Regions from separate parts of the Homo sapiens genome. Here all the other regions are linked to region 7. The links are contacts of gene promoters, found by promoter capture Hi-C in blood cells and fetal thymus (Javierre and others, 2016). All regions are on one chromosome and are shown on one strand. Each heading gives the region's core, a stretch centred on a gene start or on the middle of the fragment in contact. The rest is flanking DNA. Distances are from core to core; before and after follow the strand shown. Region 1 overlaps LOC124902135. Region 2 has its middle 4.8 kb from the start of EQTN. Region 3 overlaps LOC124902135. Region 4 has its middle 130 kb from the start of C9orf72. Region 5 overlaps LOC124902135. Region 6 overlaps EQTN (equatorin). Region 7 holds the start of IFNK (interferon kappa).

Region 1 (3,446 bases), core at 927-3,426, 200 kb after region 7:
CTTGTCTTAGCGGAACAAGAGTACTTCTTGCCTGGAGCTGGACTTAATAGGCATATATGTTGTTTTCTTCAAGTGGGGGAAAATCCATTAGTCTAACCCCTACCTACCCTTCAACCTCCTCATTCATAAAGATGTGAGTGAAGATCAGAGTGATTTATCCGATTGGCAAATTCAAGAAGAGCAAACTGTGTGCAAGTAGCCCTGCTCTTTTTTTCCCTCTTCTCTTTGGAAGGCTGCAGAAAATATTAATTCTCCACTCTTCCGCCAAGAGGAAGTCTTCTCCAGTTCTCTTGGGAGAAGTGTGCAAATCTGCCTGATGTGATGTCTGACTTTCAGGCATACGTATTCTTGCTCACTAAGCTACATCTTTCAATCTAACCATAATCTGTCATTCCTTTGTTTTATTTTTCAGTTTATTCAGTGCTTGCATGAGGAAAAGAGGTGGCATTTATTGGGGATGCTAAAACAAGGAAGTGACAGTCTTGGCAAAGGTCAGTTGATGCAGGAGGCAGCCATCACCCATAGTGCATGGCAAAGGCCCTGTATGGCTGCTGCATCTCATTTTATTTTGAACAGGCTAAATCTCAGCATAAGACCACTCCAAAACAGACTCTTGACTCCCAGAGGGGGTCATCTGGTAGGCAGAGTTTTTGGTTTGCATCCATCTGGATGCTCAGTATTCCGGCCAAATAATGTATCTTGGTTTTGGCACTGTAAACGTTTAGATTTCCTCCTGATAAAAAGTGTCCAAGAGATTTAGATGCTTGGAGATGCTGCTCCTGGAACCCAACATGGGCCTGGATCAGTGGGAGATGCTGGTTTTGTAGTTTACCACAGCTGGAGGCCCCATTGTCCAGCCCACTTGAACCCTGTGGTCAACTCTGAGTGAGAAACAGAGACCAGGATCAGGTTTCACATACTTCAGAATATAAATTTTAGATTAAGTGTTCCCTCAGTCAACAGCCTTCCCTATTTGTATTGTCAGCAGCATGTAGACTTGTAAAGTTACAAGAGAAGATCAAGAACCATGTACCAGAGTTGAGATATTGCCATTAGGCTGATAAGAGATTTACTGGGTTTGGAATTAGAGGCCAATAACAAAGCAACAACAACTCAAGACTTCATAAAGTCTTAATTTGTTCTCAAGAGATTTAGGTATTAGGTGGATCAAAGAGCAAAGTTAGTTAAAGGATGCATCGTTAAGCTTCAATTCCTCCTCTATCTCAGGCAGGGTATTAGATTGGATGATGCAGACCTGCAGATGACTGGGAAAACCTGCTACCCAGGTTCTGGCAGATTCCCAGCTGACAGGTGGGAGTGTAATATAGAGTATCAGGCATGGTTATTTTAAGAGTTTGCATGGACAGACCACATTTGGGTTTAGGCACACTTAGGATAGAGGGCATGGGATTGTGCTCAAGAAGTGAAATAAAGTGACTTTCAGAGAAAGTTTTGCATTTAGGATCTCACTTTATAGCTCCATATGTCTCCTGCACTCCAGGTTTGCACACCCAGACCTCTTCACAGGTTGGTTAGGATAACCAATTCATCCCATTTTGCCTGGGATTTTCCTAGTTTTAGCACTGCAAGTCTGGCATCGTGGTAAACCTCTCAGTGCTGGGCAAGCTAGGATAGCTGGTCACTCTATAATGTGACATAAGAATGGTTGGTCATGAGATGTTTGTTGAGTGGATAGGGCACGTGGGTAAGTACTGCGACACCAGTGCAAGTGTCATGCAGAGGAAAAAACACATGCTTCAGCCTGAGGTAGACTTGGGTAAAAATTCTCATCCTGAATTCCTAACTGTGTAATCTTCAATAAGTTATTGATCTTCTCTGAGACATAATGTGTATAAAGTATCTGAGATAGAACATTAATATCAGCTGCTCAATTAATGGTAGGTGTTATTATATGACTTGAGACATAACAGTGATAATAAGGAGAAGATTGTAATCAGTTGCTCCTGATTCATACAGAGGTACACAGAGACATAGAAAAGTCTTGTATGAGACCAAGGACCCTTTTGAGGTCTTGATGTCTAGTGTAGTTTTATGACCTGAGTCTTGCTAGGGTATGTGGATTCAGAAGTATCTCTGTATTGCTTTTCATGCCACTGTGGAGACACTTGGGAGAAAAGAAAGCAGGATTCTCTCTACTCTTCCAATGTCATCCTTTGTGACATTTTGTTTTCTAGGGGTTCATGCCACCTAATGGTGAGCTACCATTTGGTGCTGTGTGGAAGGAAGGTGATTGGCTTATGCTACAGGGGACATAGTTTCACAGGCTTGGAGAATATCGGAGACTGGAGGGGTCTCGGAGTGTATCTAGGTCAATCCCTTCATTTTATGTGTGAGCAAACTGGGTAGGACTCAGGGAAATAAAGTGACTTGTCCAATATTATTCAATGAATTAGTGGCGAGCTAGGACCAGAATTGAGGTCTCTTGATAACTAGTGAGAATGTTCTCCATCATATGGGCAGCCTCTCCTCAGCCACATCTTCCTTTACCTTTGCTCTTGTTCATAGCAACTTATAGACTTGAACTGAAAGTCTAAGTTGAACTTCCTTTATCTTTGCTCTTGTTCATAACAACTTACAGACCAAACTGAATGTCTGAGTTGAACTTCCTTTATCTTTGCTCTTGTTGATAGCAACTTTTAGACTCAAAGTGAAGGTTAGCTTTCTATTTTTGCGTAACAACTTTCCACAAACTTAGTGGCTTAAAACATCACACATTTATTATCTTGGTTTTTGTGGGTCAAGAATTTTTGCACAGATTAGCTTGATCCTCTGCTCAGGGTCTCCCAAGGCTGCAATCAAGATGTTGAATGGAATGATCAAATCAGGCACATTATCATACCTATCACTTCAAATATTTACCATTTCTTTTTGGTGAGAACATCTAAAACCCTCCTTTTTAGGTATTTGAAATATATAATACATTTTTATTAACTATTCAAAACATCACGTTGTACCCCATAAACATATACAATTATTTGTTAATTAAAAATGAAATAAAATGTAAGAAATGATATAGGATGATGTCTGTTCCTTTCTGAAACTCAGGGCCCTCTTTCAAGTTCATGTGCTCGTTAGCTGAGTTCCTTGTGATTAGAGAACTAGGTCTTTTTCCTTCTTGTTGTCAGGTGGAAGCTTTTCTTAGGACGTAGAGGCCATTCACAGTTACTTACCATGTGGTCCTTTCACAACATGGCCACTTCTTCAAAGCCAGTGGGAGAATCTCTCCCTTCAGGAAGGGATCTGTCTCTCTTTTTAAAGGCTTTTACCTGATTAAGTCAGGCCTTCCTAAGATGATCTCCATTTTGATTAATTCATTATGGTCAAATGATTTGAGAACTTATTTACATCTGCAAAATCTCTTCACCTTTGCCAAAGAATATAACCTAATCATGATAATGATATTCTATCAAATTCACAGATTCTGC
Region 2 (3,475 bases), core at 200-2,699, 220 kb before region 7:
TTTCTTTATCATATAGCTTCTCCACTGAGTCCTCCTATATTCAAAAGATTGTTAGTTTTTAATGTGACTAATGCTCTTCCTAGGTAATTGAATTGGTAGAGTACAGATATTGTAGGCTTTATAAAAAAAGCATTAGATTTAATGAAACTAAGTTTGTTTAAAAATTGACTTTAGGCCAGGTGTGGTGGTTTGTGCCTATAATCTCAGCACTTTGGGAGGTCAAGGTAGGGGGATCACTTGAGCCCAGGAGTTTGAGACTAGCCTGGGTAACATAGCGAGACCTATTGCTCCAAAAAAGAAAAAAAAAAAAATGATGTTAACCTTTCTTTGTCCTATGATCAGTATTCTTTTTAGAACATATTTTCAGAGGTGTTATGGGTTGAACTGTATGCCCCCAAATTTCACATGTTGAAGTGTTAATCCCCAGAACCTCAAAATGTGACCACGTTTGGAGATAGAGTTGTTGCAGATATAATTAGTTAAGAAGAGGTCATACTGGAGTAGGATGAAACCCCAACACAACATGACTGGTGTTTTTATGAAAAGGAGGAGAATTGGACACAGAGACACACAGAAAAAATACTATGTGGAGATGAAGGGAGAGATCAGGGAGGTACAGCAGAAGCCATGGAACATCAAAGATTGCCAGCAAACCACCAGAAGCTAGGAAAAAGGCATGGAACAGATTCTCCCTCATGCCCCTCAGGAGGAGCCAATCCTGCCAATATATTAATCTAGGACTTGTAACCTCGAGAACTGTGACACTATAAATTTGTTGTTTAAGCTACTCAGTTTGTGGTACTCGTTTCTGGTTACAGCAGCCCTAGCAAATGTATAGAATAGACAAATAGAAGAGATTATGCAAACTAAAATTGAACGTGTCCTCTCTGGAGGTTATAATTTTGGGCTGTAATGTAGCCCTTCCATAAATGTAGATGTTCTATAACACAATCTAGTATAAATTTTTCTTTAAAATAATCAAGTGTATATTATTTTCTCTACATAATGTCATATTTTAAGTCTTTAAAGAAGACCCTGAAAGGCATCTCTTGCTAATACCAAGAATGTCATTAAATATACTTTGTACTCTGTGACTTTATTTCCTGAATGATTTCATGTTTATTGACCACATCTGGATTACAAGCCCTTTCCCATTTCTGTGTCTTTTCTCTCAACAGCACTAAGCCTAGAGTAGGAGGCCATATATTTGGATATTAGCTCCATCACTTCTTAGCTGTATGATCATGGGCAAATCATCTCTTCTCTGACCCTGAACTTTCACTCATCTGAAAAATGGGAAAATTAAGTTTCACAGCCAGTACTATTTAAGACCCATTTATTGGGCTGAACTTGTTTACTTTACAGATTTATATACATAATTTTTCCTCAGGTCTAAAAGAATTAGATGTGGTGAGGTTTTCATATACCCATATTTTTTCAAGAGGCAGAGTACACCAGTATCCTATTGGGTAGGTCATATAAGTAGTATAGAGAATGAAGTTGAAGACATACACATACTAAGAAACAAGACAATTTTTTTTTTTTTTTTTTTTTTACACAAAGTCTCACTCTGTCGCCCAGGCAGGTGTACAGTGGTGCAATCTCGGCTCACTGCAACCTCTGCCTCCAGGGTTCAAGCAATTCTTGTGCCTCAGCCTCCCGAGTAGCTAGGATTATAGGCGCCCACCACCATGCCCAGCTAATTTTTGTATTTTTAGTAGAGACGGGGTTTCACCATTTTGGCCAGGCTGGTCTCAAATTCCTGACCTCAGGTGATCTGCCTGCCTCGGCCTCCCAAAGCACTAGGATCACAGGCATGAGCCACCGCATCCATAAATAACACAATTTTATATAATGGCCTAAAACATATTTTTAAAGAATATTAAGAATGTTAATTGAGTCATCCCAGTCTTCGAGAGAATTCATTAAATGGAGATAAATTCCACAAGGTATAAATTAGTTGTCACAGTCCATTAATATAAGCCCAAAAACTGTGCTTAAAAAATTAATTTGAATATTATTTTCCTTAAATCTGAGTAGTAAGTTTACATAGTGCATAAAAGAAAATAAATGATTAGCTACATCATTCAGAAGAATTGCCCTGCTGAGCCCTGCCTGAATTCATGACCCACAAAAGCATGAGATATGTTAAAGTGGGTATTGCTTTAAGTCGCCAAGTTTCAGCATACTTTGCAATGCAGCAATAAATAGCTGGAACACTTTGGAAACTTACATTCAGACAAATCACCTTCTGCCACATCCTTCCATCCTGGCAGCTCTCTACTCTGGATACACCTGACATCCTTGTTCTTCAATCCCTTAGATGTCTCACATTTCCTGACCTCTTCACTCACTCATCATCCAGCAGCCCCCATCTCTCTTTACTTTTTTAATATCCAACTCAGATTCGATGAGTATTATTCTAATTAAGAACTCACTACGGCCGGGCGCGGTGGCTCAAGCCTGTAATCCCAGCACTTAGAGAGGCCGAAGCGGGCGGATCGCAGGTCAGGAGATAGAGACCATCCTGGCTAACACAGTGAAATCCTGTCTCTACTAAAAATACAAAGAAAAAAAAAATTAGCCAGGCATGGTGGCGGGCGCCTGTAGTCCCAACTACTTGGGAGGCTGAGGCAGGAGAATGGCGTGAACTCGGGAGGCGGAGCTTGCAGTGAGCCGAGATCGCACCACTGCACTCCAGCCTGGGAGACAGAGCGAGACTCCGTCTCAAAACAAAACAAAACAAAACAAAACAAAACAAAACAAAACAAACGCATTGTGTAGTTCTAGGTACGGAGCAGCTAATTGTTCCTCTAGAGATATTTAGACAGAAACACAGACTGTGGCTTGCACACAAACAATCTCTATTGCTGCCTGACTTCCTCGTGAGACCACCCATTGGAGAGAAAAGGAAGGATCCTGAGCCAAAGAAGAGACTTTAATGGTTCCAGTTTCTCCGTATTCTAAGCAGGTTGGGCAAGAAGAGAGAGAAGTGGGTGTGGAGAAGTCTCACGGCCTGAAGAAAAGAGAGTCATTTCTCCTCTATTGGGGGAGTTGCAGGAGTTATCATCAAGTCACCTCGGGGGCAGCGGCAACAGCACAGGCTGGGTGTGTGTCTCTCTCTGCCCTCCCTCTTCTGGGGCTGGCTGACTCATTGCCGGGTCAGGCGACAGGGGCTGGGATGCAGGATCACACTGAGAATGACCAGGCATTTAAGGGCTGGACTGCACAAGCAAATCAAGTGCTTCCAGGCACTCAGAATGCCCCAGGGAGAAGACAACAGCAACAAACAACAAAAATAGTTCCCTGTTCCTTAAACAGCAAATACCTATTTCAAACAACTGTATTACAACCAAATAGCGTCAGCCAGTGTTCCCTCTAAGACACAGAAGCTTTAGGGGAACCTAAAGGACTTTTATTTTAGTTTTACCTTTTCTACTCTTTAGGTGTTAAAATGTTTTCTTCTATGGGATAA
Region 3 (3,095 bases), core at 342-2,841, 230 kb after region 7:
CTTCCACCCTCCTTTCCCCTGTTCCTCTAATGCGCCTCAAGTTGACTTGACCGTCTATTTTGCCTCGGGTATAAACTTATTTCCAGCTCCTGCACTGAAACCTGCTGAGCATTTATGCACAGAGCCACTGGCTGTGCAGCTGGAGCAATGGCCCGTGCTCACCGTCACCTCTCTTTGTTATGCTTGCTTCCAGTACATTCATCTTGTTGCTAGTTTTTGTTTCCCTGATCATTTGTGATTGCCTGTGTTCTGCCACTGTATGGCTACTCAGCCTTATTTTCCAGTGACAAGGATAGTCTCCTTTGGACAGTTAGGGACAAACAAATAAATAGCATGATTTATAGACCAAAGTGCCAAAGAGTGAAAAAACAAACCCTGAGTAATCTCCATAATACTAATCTAGACATACACTCACAAAGTCAGGAAATACAGAAGTTAAGTTGTCCATCTCAATGCTACACCTTGGAAGGAAAATTCTAAGTTGTTTTGGAGAAGATACAATAAAGCTGTGTCAACATGATAGCGAATCCATTTTGGCACATCTGCAATATGTGGGGCCAGCTGGTAAAAGGATGATGCCAATGAAGGACATCAGTCCAAATCTCGTGTAGACCTGTGTGTTTCTCTGATCAGGGATAACAGGCTTCCTCCTGAACTTTACTGCTCAGAAAGGAGCCGGTGTTGGGGATAGGTATGGGAAGGGATAAATCAGCATCAGTATTATGACAGTGAACACAAGCATAGTTAAGAATTTCAAGCTATATTCCTGATCAATATCATTTGGATATATCTCAAACCAGTTTTTTTTTCCTACTCAGTTGATTGGAGAATTCTGTCGAGAGTCAGTTTGTAGTTCCAAGCCTATCCTGTTGAACCACTCAGTCAGCAATTCAATTCAAAGAACATTTACTGAGTGTTCTCTGTTTGTAAGCCATCGGAGAGCAAAGGACCAGAATGTCTTATATTTCTATTTATTCTCAACCCTTAGAATAATGCTAGGCACACAGGTACTCCATAAATGTGTGATGAACATAACTGAACTACTACATGGAGAAGGAGGACTAATATATAATAAACACCCACTGGGTACCAGGCATGCTAGGCACTGAGGGATCAGTGACGAATGGAACTGCCTCTGCCCTGGGGAGCCTATACTCAATCAAGTCTTTCCTTGTGGATCTTACATGCAGATGATCTGGAAAATTAACCACTGAACTCAGACACTCTCAGGGCAGATTCAGAATTGCTCAAGTTCATGATTAATTAATGGCTTTAAAAAAGCTTACGGCACCTTTTTTGGCTATCCCTTTTTTGGGGGTGGTGGGGGAGGCGTATCCTTAATCTTCTGAAAGAAAGGAGAGTATACGTCTTCAGGATGGACCTAGATATGGCGTGGAACCTGAAACCTGCATCTCATGTTTTCTCTTTCCTTGATTAATAGTTGGTTTAGGTTGGTTCACAGTAAAAAACTCATCAGTCAAGCTGGGTACCTCTTAGGAAGTACTGGCTCCCTGCATTGAGGTTGACTGCTGGGAGCATCTCACCAAACACCATAGGTCATGCATGTAGACAATAGCTCTCAGGTCTAATTTCCTATCATCTTACTGAAAACAGAGCTCTTGTAGAAGACATCTGCGAAACTCTGACTAGTACCTTCTTGGAGCTACCACTAGCATCTGTACATCCCTCTCCTATAGAAGCTATCGTTGAACAGCAATAATTTATTGCTGTGTCTCCTTCACTTGGCTGTGAGCTCCTTGAGGATCCAGACTGCTGATAGCATAGGTGGCCCAGAATCACCTGTAGGCGGAGCTCAGAGCCATAATGCTAGAAGCTGAAGTTTTCCTTGGGAGAAAGCAAGCATGGAACTTTGATTTCCACTTTCTCTTTTTGGGTTGCTACAAGCTTAAAGGAAATTTCTATTTTAATCACATCTTTTGTGCTGCTAATTTGCTGAGATATGCCCAGGAGTTCTCCCTACTCTATCCTTTAAAAAAGTCGAACAGGAACCAGAGTAGGTCCTAGGAAAATCGTGTATGAAGAGAGGTTCATAGAAGGCCACCAGTTTTAGTGTCGGGGGCACCATTCATACAGAATATAATGTGAATTGTGTACCCTAGAGATGCTTCTGTGAACCCTTTCCTCATCCGTGGTCACTTCTGTGCAAAGGAGCAGCCAATTCTGCAGGCTAAGAGAAGGCATGGGAATTTAGAACCACAGCCTGTGCTGTGTTTGTTCCTCCCTGCAGGGTCTTTGAGTGGTGACTGTGCCTCAGGGCTCTGCAGTGGGGACAGTTAGCTGAAAGGATACAATCCAGCCACAATTTACCATCATTTCACTTACAATCATGTCTTAATCTCCTATTCATTTCAGCGTCTGCAGCATCCAGCACCCTGAACTTGGTAGGTATTCAACAGATGGTGGTTGAAGGAAGCTGCTGAATGACTGTAGTTTCTCCTATTTACCTCCTACATAGTGATGCATAAGGTGAATCTTAAGAGAGATCAGAAGGCTTAAGGACTAAGGATATGTGAAGATATTTGATGATCACTATTTGGCTTGATTTGATGATTTTGCTCTTAGGAATCCCATTTTGAGCACGCTAGAAAGAAGATAAACTTTAGAGTCAGTTTCAGATTCTGGCTTTCCTACTTATTAAATGTATGACCTTGGACAAGTTCTGAGCCACACTCTCCTCAAATGAAAAATGGCAATAATATTACCTACCATAGCTACTCAGTAGTTATTATTATGCTTATTATTATCTCCCTTCCTCCCTTCAAAACCTGGATCTTTGTCTTCCTTTGTGACCAACACCTAGTTACCTTTTCCTATTGTGTTTGACTGCTTTTCCACACATTGTTGGCAGGACCATGGCATGTCACTGAATTCCTAGCTCTTGTCCTGACATCCTGGTTTTGCACTGTCCAGTACAGTAGCCACTAACTAGATATAGCTGTTTAAATTTAAATTAATTACATAAAATTAAAATTTCAGTTCTTCGACCACCCTAGACCCACTTCAAGTGGTTAGTGGCTACCATATTGAACAGAACGGCTATAAAATGTATCCATTTTGCAGAAAGTTCTATAGGC
Region 4 (3,351 bases), core at 172-2,671, 180 kb after region 7:
TAAGGTGACTCCCATTTATAAGGAACTGGTGTAAAAGATCCTGGCAGCTATTGCTGCTGGTAATCGGTTCCTTCTCCACTCGCCTGAAATTACTTTCAAGGTAGTTCATAAGCAGGTTTACAGTTATTTTATGGCTTGCTGTTTAATAGTGCTTTCCCAGTCTATATTTTGCTCAAGATATTTTACCTCACCAACAGGGCTTAATTTATTGGCTCTATTAGGCATGGACACAGAGTTAGAGAAAGGATTAAAATAGGTGTTTTCTCATTGTAGTAGGTAGATAGGTCCGACCAAATCTGCCAGGTTTTAAAGCTTGACTCTGTTAGTTTGCATTTGACAGGAATCAATTCTATATTTTTCTGAGGAAAAAAATGTGAATTAATTCTAGTACTTAACCAAGTGCCTGGTACACAGTTAGCAACCAGTGAACATTTGCTTATTGGCAATGCATTTTCAAGTTTATTGGTTGCCAACCCTGTACCAGGCTCCATGTCCTCCATTTATGTGATGGCCCATATTTTTATGATGAATGAATGACTCCACTCAAGGTTATTATTATCTATGGGGAAACATCTATAAACAAAACAATTAATGGTAAAACCAAGTAGAATAAAGTTTGACAGCTAAAACAAAAGTTTAGTTAAAACACTCAGGGGAGAAAGATTAATTCTCTCTTAAAGTAATAATGATAAGCCTCATGGAGAGGATTATTTCTGGGTCCCCATAAAGTATGCTACCAACTGTAGAGTGCTGCACTTGAGTGAAAATGTCATCTATCAGCTCCCTGTGACACCAGGACTAAAGCAAACATTTCATATTAGAGTTATCTATGTTTATTTTCCCAACGTCATGAAAGGTTGAACAGTTTTTCTGTTTCAGTCACAAGTCTCCACAGTTTTGAGTCTAAGTTTCAGCTGAGCTGTCCCAGATGCTCACAATGGTGGTCACTTTCTCCATAGAATAATGTGAATTGTTAAAAGAAAGAAAAAGAAGAAGGGATGTGGGTGAGTTGGGGGAAGAGAGCTGATACTGCCAAAGAACACTAAAATAACACTTAACAGTAGAACACTAGACACATATAGTAGAAAACAAATCAATTCAGAAAGATATTCTCATAAATCCTCTTTCTAGTGACAACTGGGGTTCTTTAAATGGAGAAAAATGAGGGACTGTTATGCAGCATTTGAAAAGAAGCTACAAATTAAGATTATGGATCAATTACTACTGATCTAATATCAAGTGAAATAAAGCCAGATTATAAAAATATACATGAAAAACAATAACAACTATGTTAAAACACATGCAACTTCATGTAGTAACATAGTGGAGCGAAGTACATAAACTTCATGATGACAATTGCTTTAGGATGGAAAGGCAATTGTTTCTTAAAAAACCGTTTGGACGGTGATCGTATTTTAACTATGAAAATGTAAACTTTATTTATTAAGTTGACGTTTAACAGAAAAGCCTTGCAGGGGATCAGATCCCCTTCAAGATTGCACCTGGGAGGCAGGAAAGGATTGTTTATTTAGCCTTAAGGATTTTGTCATAGATTGCAGAGGAATGCTTTAGCCCCTAACCATGCTGCTCTGCTCTGTTCCCATTTCATCTGCACTTGCAATACAAAAGTGTTTTCTGAGGGTGTTCTGAAACAGTTCTAGTCCGCTTAAGGTCACACAGATCAACCCTGGATCCATGTCTCAGTGGAGCAAAGTTGAGGGGGAAGGCAGACAAAGCTGACTGCTCATGGGGGCCCCACGTGGTTGAGACCCAGAGAGAGCTTAATCAGTGATGTGAACTGGCTGACGTGAGTTGCAGAGACACAAACTCACAACCAGAGTATCAATCAGCATTAGTGATCATTAGGGACATGGTCTGCTTAAAGTCAGCAATCTGAAAAGGCCAGACTGAGTTCTTATGATAGAAATGACGTATGTATAAAACATTCCCTTTTTGCTTTCAAATCAATTGGCCCTTTTATATTACATGGCACAACTCTCTAGAATCATAACTTACTTCTTGCCAAGACAGATTTCAAGTTCCTTCTTTGGGCAAAACTTTGACCCTTACTTTAGATCCCTTGGAGACACATTTCTATATGGAAGTCTTAGTCATATTGGTTCCAACAAGACTGAATATAGTGCTCGACACTTAATAAGTTCCCAGGAAATGTTTGTTAAATGGGATACAAAAGATTCCCAATTTCTTTCCTCTTGTCTTCACAGCAGCAGCATACTGTGTTCCTCTATCTGGAATGTGTCTGAAGTGGCTTGATGGCTTTGTCATGGGTGGGGGCACTTCCTCTCAGGGAAGTGCAGGCTTCACTCTTTTTGTCCTCTTCACTCTGTTCTGAACTTTTCTCTTCACACTGGATTTCTGTTTACTGCATGGCCTTTAGATATGATGCCACGGGGTGTCTCTGCGTTTTAGGCACCTAGCCTCCTTCTTCTCTTGGAGGGGACATTGGCACAATTTCATTTTTGAAGCAACTGGCATCTCAGATTATGCTTCAAGTCCCCTAACCCAATTTAAAGCTTTCTTTTTCTCATAGCTTTTCTAGATCAGTAGTGTGTGTGTTGCCTAGTCATCAAATCTAATAAGAGCAGACAGTTTTGTCTCTCCGATGGTTCCTGTGTAATAATTCCACATCCATGTGTCATCTAACACACACCGTTTTGTCAGGTTAGGAAAGTGAAATTCATGAGCTTAAAAAGAGAGGACATTGTCCGTGGAGTTGCAGCCATGACAGAGTTATGTGTCCTTAAAAAAGGGGCTATACAAAAGCTGCTTCACTGCACTAAAACTAACACATCCCATGTTATTGACTCCCTCGGAAGCAATGTCTAAAGACCACTGCTCCAGCTGGTAGAGACATCGGAGTCTTAACCACCGATTAGCACATTTCCTGGGTTGTGCGTTGTCCTTTGGCTGAACTCTCCAAATGCTGCACTTGCTGAGGTTGCTTTAGACTCAAGAGTGTCATAGCAGCACTTTTTGTTATTATTGCATTGGCTTCCTTGGGTTCAGATGTCACAGTGCAGTACCGATAAGTGAAAAATTAAGGAAGAACTAGCAAAAAAATAAAGCATATGTTGGAAGTCACAGCATAGCATAATTACCGTCAAGATATTAACTCTCTAAAAAGAGGACAATTCAAGCATTAAAAAGATGCTATGTTGGGATGTTGTATCACTTCTTGCCAGTATATAGTCGACTCTGATTTAAGATAAAGTACGTAAGTTCTATTTTCTAATGTACCTTCTAGAAGAATAGACCAGCAGTTAAAACTTCTCATTAATAAGTGCAACTTGTAACATAATAATAGATTTATAATACATGCTTAGTTGAATA
Region 5 (3,437 bases), core at 757-3,256, 210 kb after region 7:
TTGCTTGTTTTTGTCAGCTTTGTCAAAGATCAGATGTTCATAGATGTGCAGCCTTATTTCTGGGCTCTCTATTCTGTTCCATTGGTCTATGTGCCTGTTTTTGTACAAGTACCATGCTGTTTTAGTCACTGCAGCCTCATAGTGTAGATTGAAGTCAGGCAACATGATTCCTCCAGCCTTTTACTTTTTTCTTAGAATTGCCTTGGTTATTCTGGCTCTTTTTTGGTGCCATATAAATTTTAAAATAAATTTTTCTAGTTCTATGAGAATGTCATTGGTAGTTTGATAGAAATAGCATTGAATCTGTAAATTGTTTTGGGCAGTATAGCCATTTTAATGATATTGATTCTTCCTTTCCATGAGCATGGGATATTTTTCTATTTGTGTCTTCTCTGATTTCTTTGAGTAGTGTTTTGTAATTCTCATTGTAGAGCTCTTTCAACTCTCTGGTTAGCTATATTCCTAGGTATTTTATTTTTGTGTGTGTGGCAATTGTGAATGGATTGCCTTTCTGATTTGGCTCTCTGGTTGGTTGTTGTTGGTGTATAGGAATGCTAGTAACTTTTGTACATTGATTTTGTATCCTGCAACTTTACTGTAGTTGTTTATCAGCTGAAGAAGCTTTTGAGCTAAGACTATCGGGCTTTTCAGATATTGAATCATGTCTGCAAACAGAGATAGTTTGACTTCCTGTCTTCCTACTTGGAGATTCTTTATTTCATTCTCTTGCCTGATTGCTCTTGTTAGGACTTCCAATATTATGTTGAATAGAAGTGGTGAGAGAGGGTATCCTTGTCTTGCTGGTTTTCAAGGGAATGCTTCCAGGTTTTGCCCACTCAGTATAATGTTGGCTTTGGGTTTGTCATAGATGACTCTTATTATTTTGAGGTATGTTCATTCAATACCTAGTTTACTGAGAGTTTTTAACATAAAGGAAAGCCTTTTCTGTATCTATTGAGAAAATCCTGTGGTTTTTGTCTTTAGTTCTGTTTATGTGATGAATCACATTTACTGATTTTCGTATGTTGAGACAACCTTGCATCCTGGGGATGAAGGCTACTTGATCATGGTGGATTAGCTTTTTGATGTGTTGCTGGATTTGGTTTGCAAGTCTTTAGTTGAGGATTTTTGCATCAATGTTTCTCAAGGATATTGGTCTAACGTTTTCTTGTGTGTTGTCTCTGCCAGGTTTTGGTGTTAATATCATGATGGCCTCATAGAATGAATTGGGGAGAAGTCCCTCCTCCTCATTTATTTATTTATTTATTTATTTATTTTTGGAATAGTTTCTGTAGGAATGGTACCAGACTTTCTTTGTATATCTGGTAGAGTTTGGCTGTGAATCCATCAGGTCCTGGCCTTTTTTTAGTTGATAGGCTATTTATTACTCATTCAATTTCAGAGTCATTATTGGTCTGTTCAGGGAATCAATTTTTTTCTGGCTCAGTCTTTGGAAGGTGTATGTGTCCAAAAATTTATCCATCACTTCTAAGTTTTCTAGTTTGTTTGTGTAGAGGTGTTCATAGTAATTTCTAATGGTTGTTTTTATTTCTGTGGGGCCAGTAGTAACATTCCCTTTTTCATTTCTATTTGTTTTTATTTGAATCTTCTCTCTTCTTAATTTGTCTAGCTTGTGGACTATCTATTTTATTAATTTTTTCTAAAAAACAATTCCTGGACTTACTGATCTTTTGAATTGTTTTTTGTGTCTCAATTTCCTTAAATTCAGCTCTGATTTTTGTTATTTCTTTTCTTCTGCTAGCTTTAGGGTTGGTTTGTTTTGCATTTCTAATTCTTCCAGTTGTGAAGTTAGGTTGTTAATCTGAGGTCTTTCTAACTTTTTTTTTTTTTTTTTTTGAGACGGAGTCTTGCTCTGTCGCCCAGGCTGGAGTGCAGTGGCGGGATCTCGGCTCACTGCAAGCTCCGCCTCCCGGGTTCACGCCATTCTCCTGCCTCAGCCTCCCAAGTAGCTGGGACTACAGGCACCCGCCACTATGCCCGGCTAATTTTTTGTATTTTTAGTAGAGACGGGGTTTCACCGTTTTAGCCGGGATGGTCTCGATCTCCTGACCTCGTGATCCGACCGCCTCGGCCTCCCAAAGTGCTGGGATTACAGGTGTGAGCCACCGCGCCCGGCCCTTTCTAACTTTTTGATGTGGGCATTTAGTGCTATGAATTTCCCTCTGAACACTGTCTTAGCTGTGTCCCAGAGATTCTGGCATGTTTTATCTTTGCTTCCATTATTTTCTAAGAACTTCTTGATTTCTGCCTCAATTTCATTCTTTACTCAAAAGTCATTTAGAAGCATGTTGTTTAATTTCCATGTAATTGTATGATTTTGAATGATTTTCATTGTGTTGACTACTATGTTTATTGTAGTCCAAGAGTGTATTTGATATGATTTTGGTTCTTTTACATTTGTTGAGGATTGTTTTATATCCAATTATGTGGTCAATTTTAGAGTATGTGCCATGTGGCAATGAGAATGTATATTCTGTTGTTTTGTTTTGGGTGGAGAGTTCTGTAAAGGTCTGTCAGAATATCATTGGACCATTTGGTCCAGTGCTGAGTTTAGGTCCTCAATATCTGTTAGTTTTCTGCCTTGATGATCTGTCTAATACTGCCACTGAAGTGTTGAAGTCTCCCACTATTATTGCATGGGAGTCTATGTCTCTATGTCTCTTGGTAGGTCTCTAAGAACTGGCTTTATGAATCTGGGTGCTCCTGTGTTGGGTGAATGTATATTTAGGATAGTTAGGTCTTGTTGAATTAAACCCTTTACCATTATGGAATGCCCTTCCTTGTCTTTGATTCTTGTTAGTTTTAAATCTGTTTTTTTTTTTTTTTTTCTGAAATTAGGATTGCAACCTTTGCTTTTTTCTGTTTTCCATTTGCTTGGTAGATTTTTCTCCATCCCTTTATTTTGATCCTGAGTGTCATTACATATGAGATGGGCCTCTTGAAGACAGCATACCATTGGGTCTTGCTTTTTTATCCAACTTGCCACTCTGTGCCTTTTAAGTGGGGACATTTAGCCCATTTGTCAAGGCATTTAGCTCATTTACCAGTTAGCTGTTAGTAACCAGCTAATAGCACAATGACAGGATCAAATCCATGCATATCAATACTAACCTTGATATCAATACAAACCTTGATACGTGTGGATTTGATCCTGTCATTGTGCTGTTAGCTGGTTACTACATTGGCTTGTTCATGTGGTTGCTTTGCAGTGACACTAGTCTGTGTGTTTAAGTGTGTTTTCATATTAGCTGGTAGCAGTCTTTCCTTTGTATGTTTAGTGCTCCTTTCAAGATCTCTTGTAAGACAGGTCTGGTGGTAATGAAGTCCCTCAACATTTGCTTATCTGAAAAGGATCTTATCTCTTCACTTAGGAAGCTTGGTTTGGTTGGATATGAAATTCTTGGTTGAAGATTTTT
Region 6 (3,080 bases), core at 124-2,623, 240 kb before region 7:
ACTGGCTGTGAGACCCTCTTCTCACTTTTAGAGCAGGAGAGGGAGGAAAAGAGACCACACATACCAGTACCTCCTGACATTCTTCCTGTGCCCACTCCCCTTCCATCCCCCTCAAAATACCTTCACTGCACTTTACAAGGCAAACTATGCCAACGGTCTAAGGATGAGTAGCCCATTTAAAAATATATAGCTAACATATCTCTTTTGGCCATTTTAGATATTGTAGCCAGAGTAATGCTGTACTCAACTTTGTACAATGCTTTACTTTAGTACCAAAGACAAGTACTACTACTACTAGTACTACTACTACTTTTTACATGATTGAAAAGTGGCTCTTCCACCCCTTTCCAATCAGGAAAATTCTTGGTACCTCCTAAGGAGGGGTGGAGAGAAAACGTGGGAATAGTTGGTTATCAACCTCGCTCCAAGCCCACCTGATATTCTCATGTCCCTTTCTCACCTGTGGACTCAACACAACTCCTTTGCACCTGGAGCATCTCCAAGCAACTGCAATCACCTCCCTCACTTTTCCACCAGATCTGCAGGTGCCTGAACTGGCAGTACAAATGCTGGCACCGATCCCTGGAGCTGTCAAAAGGGCACAGAGAAATGGCAAAATAACCGGCAGAGAGTAGCATGGGCTGCTGCTCCAGGCCACCTCCACTGGCTCAGAAACTGTGAGCACTGTTGCCAGAGAGCAGGCAAAGGTGAGCGCCTGACCTACTGCCTTTTCCCTCAAAGGTGCCGTCTTTTATAGCCCATCACTATTCAAAGGCGGAGCTTCGTAGCTTTCCCAACCAATGGTGAGTGAGACTGGGCGGGAGTCTGCGGCGAAATTTGGGAGTGAAGGACTCTAACAATGGATAGTAGGGGAAGTGGCAGGTGAGAGTAAAATGTGTGTTTATTCTCGTGAGGAAGAAGAATTATAGATACCCAAGCTAAAGGAAAGGAAAACAGTTTCCCAAGAGCTGAAAGAACACCTGAGTTAAGGAACCTTATGTGTCTTGGGTGCTGGGCCTGTGTTGATCCTAAAGACTTTTGCTGCAAGTCTGACTATTCACCTTCATGGATCATGGAGAGAACCTCAGATTGGAAGCACATCACAGCAGGTGCTCTTAGGCAATTTATCTGATTTACCTGAACTTCTGTTTTCTGATCTGTAAAATAAACTCACCTTTCATAAGATAGTAGAATTTAATGTGATACAATGTTCTAAAGTGCCTATTATAAAGTAGGTACTCAGTAAATGAAAGCTATTGGTATGGTAAGAATTGAAGAGGGCAATGAAACATGCCCTAAGTTCTTCTCCCATATCCATACATATCCAGAAAAGACATGATGCATGTCGCTAAATCCCTCCACTTGAAACTAATTTCTTCTTTTTTTTTCTTTCTGAGATGGAGTTTTGCTCTCTCGCCCAGGCTGTAGTACAGTGGTGTGATCTCAGCTCTCTGCAACCTCTGCCTCCCGAGTTCAAGCAATTCTCCTGCCTCAGCCTGAGTAGCTAGGATTACAGGCGTGTGCCACTACACGTGGCTAATTTTTTTTATTTTTTTAGTAGAGACAGGGTTTCACCATGTTGGCCAGGCTGGTCTCAAACTCCTGACCTCGTGATCTGCTCACCTGGGCCTCCCAAAGTGCTGGGATTACAGGCATGAGCCACCGCGCCCAGCCGAAACTAATTTCTAAAAAGGAAACTTTATCCCTATTTTCTGTCTTTGTAAATTGAAATACTTTTGGTATGGATAGCCACAAAAGTCACTAATAAACTTGAATAAGTCTTTGAAAAGCATTGCTTTTCTTTCAGTGAAACATAATAATCCTGGATGCCTGGGGGAAGAGAGAAAGAAGGGCACTTCAGCTCTAAAAGACTCAAGGTCCATGAGTCCCCAGCTAGGAAATTACCTTCTGGAATTCCCCTCTTCCTCTCTCTTCTTCTGGAACACTGTGTTGTCTCAAACGATTATGGATACTTTAGAAATGGAAAAATATGGCCGGGTGCGGTGGCTCACACCTGTAATCCCAGCACTTCAGGAGGCCAAGGCAGGCGGATCATGAGGTCAAGAGATCAAGACCATCCTGGCCAACATGGTGAAACCCCATCTCTACTAAAAATACGAAAAGTAGCCGGGCGTGGTAACGTGTGCCTGTAATCCCAGCTACTCAGGAGGCTGAGGCAGGAGAATCGCTTGAGCCCGGGAGGCAGAGGTTGCAGTGAGCCGAGATCGCGCCACTGCACTCCAGCCTGGCGACAGAACGAGACTCCCTCTCAAAAAAAAAAAAAAAAAAAAGAAAAGAAAAGAAATGGAAAAGTATCTTTTCTTTCTTACCTTTTGTCATGTGAGAGCAACCCCTGACGACTTTTAAACAGTTCAAGAATGCTAAGAGTTCCTACCATTAATTTAGTTTCATCTCTTGATGGCACAACTGTTTTGTCAATAAAACATGAACAGGTGTGTTCTTTTTGCTTCAGCGGTGGTGAGGGGGCGCATAGGCAGTGGTGAGTTCCCTGATGTTCTCAAAATGCCCCTGGGGAAGGTAAATATCTAAATGTCCTTGTTTTAAAGTGAACCAGCCTAGAGAAAATATCTTTCAAAGTCACTCTCCAGGAATGTTTTTACTTGATGAGTTTCTCACACCTTAAATTATCTTCTTGTGTATTTTCCATTAAATTTTATAACCGAGAGATAATTTGTATTGAGTCTGTCCTCCTTTTAAGACACCAGAATGTTTGTCTCGGCAGTTTCAAACTCATGACATTAACAGAAGACATAAAGAAAGGTCTTTTGATGACAAAATAATTAAAGTTATTTATTCATCAATAAGATTTCTTCACCGGGTTCCTTGATTTCTTCACCGGGTAACCGACTCATCGTTTTCATGCATCTCATTATCTGAGCCTATGGAAATGATATCCGTCATTATCTTAGATTCTGATGTTCTTGTGCCTGATCTTCTCATATCTGAAGAAGTGGTACCCAAAAATGTGCTGCTCTCTGCACTCTTGGAAAAGGATGTATCTGAAACACCTTCTGATGGATGAAAGTAAGACATCGTGGCCAGCTCTGGGTTGACAGAGT
Region 7 (3,311 bases), core at 509-3,008:
AAGTGACCAAATATATTCCCACACATAATTTTTAGTGCTTACATATATGTTTTCTACTGATGGCTTACTTAACTAAGTATTTATTGCTGAACATTAAAATTGTTTTCCATTTTTTGCTGTGACAAACTTCCTTACAGCTAAGTCTTTAAGGGCATCATCATTATTTCTGGGGAATCAGTTCCTAGAGGATCAATCGCTGAGTCAAATATTATGTACATTTTTAAGGCTTTTGATCCATATCACCACTTTCCTCTCTAGGAAGGTTGTGTCAATTTATAACGCTATATAAAAGGGCTTGTTTTCTTAATGTTTTCCAAATTTGGTCAGCCCAAGAAATCTGCCCATGAAATAAGAATTTATGTAGATGGAACAAATAGAATAATATATATATATATATTTTTTTCCGTAAGAAACCTTTCCTAAAAGCCAGGATTTTAAGAAATCCCACTTACCCACAATTAGCCTTTGGTGCAGTCAACTGATTTAGACAAGAACTTTTTAAGCCAACTTTTCAATCAAAGTCTGCCATGTTTGTGGAACTGTGGCTATTTACCATTTTACAATGACTTAATTGCAAATTAATGTATATCTTTTTTTTCTTGAGAAGATATAATAAGCTACCTTTTTAAAATGACAATCCATTTTATTTTCCTGGAGAAAAGAATCCATTTGCTTTAACCATAATCAGAGGAAGGTTATTTGGTCAAACAAAGTAAAAACCATAAACAATAGATAGCCATCATTACCACAGTAACATTGGTCCAGCTAGGAATTCACTTAGCTAAATGGGTGACTTCCTACTCACATACCTCCTCAGTGCACAACAAACACAGGAGCAAACAAAAGCCTTTACAGAATCCAGAACCACCAGGCAAGAAGATATAATAATCAAGCAATCAAGCAAAAGTTTAAAAATACTGCCTAAACTGCACCAAAAAAAAAAAAGAAAAGAAAAGAAAAGAAAATGATACTACAAGAGAGAAGTTAATGAGGCAGAAAGATATTCTCAAATATAAAACCCCCTCCAGGACTTTTAAGAAAGGTATCAGAGGCATATGGAAGGCTAAGTCCAGGATGGATTTAACTGAAGAAAAGGATATTTAGAGATTATCAACATTTTCTAATGCAACAGAAAACCAAGCCAACTTAGTCTCCTACTTAGTAAGTGCCAGCTCTATTCTTCATCTTTTTGGAGATCCAGAAAAATCAAAAAGAGAAAATATCCAAATATAGAAGCTTAATTTAACAAAATTGGAAAAACCTAAACTATACTGTGCTCTGGTGACCTAGCAATCAAATAATCACAGTCATTTGGTCAATGTCTATGATTAACTCAATGAGACAGGATGTTTGGCTATAGCACCAGGTACAAAAAATATATTTTCATGAAGGATCACTCCCTCTTATGTAATAGATTTGGGTGAGTGAGTGAGTGAGTGAGTGCATGGACTCACAGCTTTTGGCTTTCTGAAATACCCTGCATCAGTCTTGTTATGATGATTCCTTAGTGCTGGGATGGATCATCCAGGCATTTAAGGTAACACGATGGTAATTCTTTGCTCATTTTTCAGGGAAAAAAAAAAGTTATCACTTCCAAAGTCGGCATAGTCACCCGAAGTAAAAAAAAAAAAAAAAAAAAAGCCTCAGAGGCAAAGGAAAGGGGCCGCAACCTTGGTTAACTGTGAAATGACGAATGAGAAAACTCCTCCTGCTGAAGATATTCAGGTATATAAAGGCACATGAAGGAAAACTCAAAACATCATTGTCATATACACATCTTCTGGATTTTTTAGCTTGCAAAAAAAATGAGCACCAAACCTGATATGATTCAAAAGTGTTTGTGGCTTGAGATCCTTATGGGTATATTCATTGCTGGCACCCTATCCCTGGACTGTAACTTACTGAACGTTCACCTGAGAAGAGTCACCTGGCAAAATCTGAGACATCTGAGTAGTATGAGCAATTCATTTCCTGTAGAATGTCTACGAGAAAACATAGCTTTTGAGTTGCCCCAAGAGTTTCTGCAATACACCCAACCTATGAAGAGGGACATCAAGAAGGCCTTCTATGAAATGTCCCTACAGGCCTTCAACATCTTCAGCCAACACACCTTCAAATATTGGAAAGAGAGACACCTCAAACAAATCCAAATAGGACTTGATCAGCAAGCAGAGTACCTGAACCAATGCTTGGAGGAAGACAAGAATGAAAATGAAGACATGAAAGAAATGAAAGAGAATGAGATGAAACCCTCAGAAGCCAGGGTCCCCCAGCTGAGCAGCCTGGAACTGAGGAGATATTTCCACAGGATAGACAATTTCCTGAAAGAAAAGAAATACAGTGACTGTGCCTGGGAGATTGTCCGAGTGGAAATCAGAAGATGTTTGTATTACTTTTACAAATTTACAGCTCTATTCAGGAGGAAATAAGGTATATTTTTGGAATTAAAATTCCTTTTCCCTCCGAAATCTCTTTCTCCTTCTCCTCCTCCAACTTCTTTTTAAGGATTGTTGTGCTGTCCTGTAAGCCTGTCCTCAGTTGGACTGGTAGCCTCGGAACATCAGGGACACTCACCTCTCTAAGGAGAGGTAATGCCAACCATCCTCAGGGTGACCAAGAGTCTCCTTAGAAAGTCTTTAAGACATTTTTAAAGGAATAAGATTCCCTCTCCGTCTTCTTCTATTCTCTCTTGCTCTTTTCTGTGGCCATTTTGAAAGAGCTTTGCTATATATACCACCTGTGGACTTCACCAAGACAATGGCTAGAGGATAGGGAGCAGAGAATGTTGCAAAATGGTAACATTTCAATGACTTAACTGTTTTGCTGCCAAGGTTGCTTATCCTATGAAAATTCAGCACATTAAAAGAGCTTATACATGCTCCCTAGAGTCAATACTCTTGCATTTTCCCCCTCCTGCTCGGGGGGAAAAAGGTTGACATTTCTGGCCCATTTCCTTCTCAGCTTGGTTTGTTTGAATTGATGCTTGTGGAATAGTATTTCATTACTTTAAGAGTGAAGATCCATAGTGAAATTGGATGGATGGTTGAATTAGACGACCATTAAGCTTTCATTTAACCTTTGAGAGTCTGTGATTCTAATGTAGCACACTCTTCATTCCTGATGTATATTGTTTGATTCCTACATCTAAAGGCATGGAAAATGCTGTGGAAAAGTATGGTACAGAATCTGTCTTTTACTGTTTTTCATGTGCCTGAAATAAAATGTCCAGAGTCATAATATGGAACAATTTTACATTAGATTTTCCTAGTTAGAAGACTACATTCTGTGAGTTAATTTAACTAGCTATTCCA

Evidence for each region. Contacts are between HindIII fragments. The CHiCAGO score rates a contact against its expected background, and 5 or more counts as called.
Region 1: a fragment that was not itself captured here is called in contact with the fragment with the promoter of IFNK in region 7 in 2 of 17 cell types (neutrophils and monocytes); the score reaches 14.1 in neutrophils.
Region 2: a fragment that was not itself captured here is called in contact with the fragment with the promoter of IFNK in region 7 in 8 of 17 cell types (monocytes, activated CD4 T cells, total B cells and 5 more); the score reaches 8.8 in monocytes.
Region 3: a fragment that was not itself captured here is called in contact with the fragment with the promoter of IFNK in region 7 in 1 of 17 cell types (neutrophils); the score reaches 6.9 in neutrophils.
Region 4: a contact is called between a fragment that was not itself captured here and the fragment with the promoter of IFNK in region 7, in 1 of 17 cell types (neutrophils). The highest score is 8.3, in neutrophils.
Region 5: a fragment that was not itself captured here is called in contact with the fragment with the promoter of IFNK in region 7 in 1 of 17 cell types (neutrophils); the score reaches 6.3 in neutrophils.
Region 6: a fragment that was not itself captured here is called in contact with the fragment with the promoter of IFNK in region 7 in 5 of 17 cell types (total B cells, naive B cells, M1 macrophages and 2 more); the score reaches 9.0 in total B cells.

The regions. Positions count from the first base shown.
Region 1 is chr9:27,717,319-27,720,764 of GRCh38, forward strand. All of the region lies in intron 1 of LOC124902135, which reads left to right. Among named protein-coding and RNA genes, the nearest start is that of C9orf72, 150 kb to the left of the region's middle. The HindIII fragment of the contact is 1,949 bases long and covers 1,203-3,151 here.
Region 2 is chr9:27,300,255-27,303,729 of GRCh38, forward strand. No RefSeq gene overlaps it. Among named protein-coding and RNA genes, the nearest start is that of EQTN, 4.8 kb to the left of the region's middle. RefSeq lists an enhancer at 3,298-3,475. The HindIII fragment of the contact is 3,881 bases long and covers 1-3,390 here.
Region 3 is chr9:27,756,445-27,759,539 of GRCh38, forward strand. The region is part of intron 2 of LOC124902135; the gene reads left to right. Among named protein-coding and RNA genes, the nearest start is that of C9orf72, 180 kb to the left of the region's middle. The HindIII fragment of the contact is 624 bases long and covers 1,280-1,903 here.
Region 4 is chr9:27,698,932-27,702,282 of GRCh38, forward strand. No RefSeq gene overlaps it. Among named protein-coding and RNA genes, the nearest start is that of C9orf72, 130 kb to the left of the region's middle. The HindIII fragment of the contact is 2,222 bases long and covers 311-2,532 here.
Region 5 is chr9:27,737,018-27,740,454 of GRCh38, forward strand. All of the region lies in intron 2 of LOC124902135, which reads left to right. Among named protein-coding and RNA genes, the nearest start is that of C9orf72, 170 kb to the left of the region's middle. The HindIII fragment of the contact is 2,775 bases long and covers 620-3,394 here.
Region 6 is chr9:27,281,870-27,284,949 of GRCh38, forward strand. It overlaps EQTN (equatorin), which reads right to left. Exons shown (of 8, transcript NM_020641.3): 8 at 2,785-3,080. The coding sequence ends at 2,854. It also overlaps the pseudogene REXO6P. Among named protein-coding and RNA genes, the nearest start is that of EQTN, 14 kb to the right of the region's middle. The HindIII fragment of the contact is 7,253 bases long and covers 1-3,080 here.
Region 7 is chr9:27,522,532-27,525,842 of GRCh38, forward strand. IFNK (interferon kappa) reads left to right here and starts at 1,759. Exons shown (of 2, transcript NM_020124.3): 1 at 1,759-2,430. The coding sequence starts at 1,806. The coding sequence ends at 2,429. The region is part of intron 1 of MOB3B (MOB kinase activator 3B); the gene reads right to left. The HindIII fragment of the contact is 1,828 bases long and covers 1,235-3,062 here.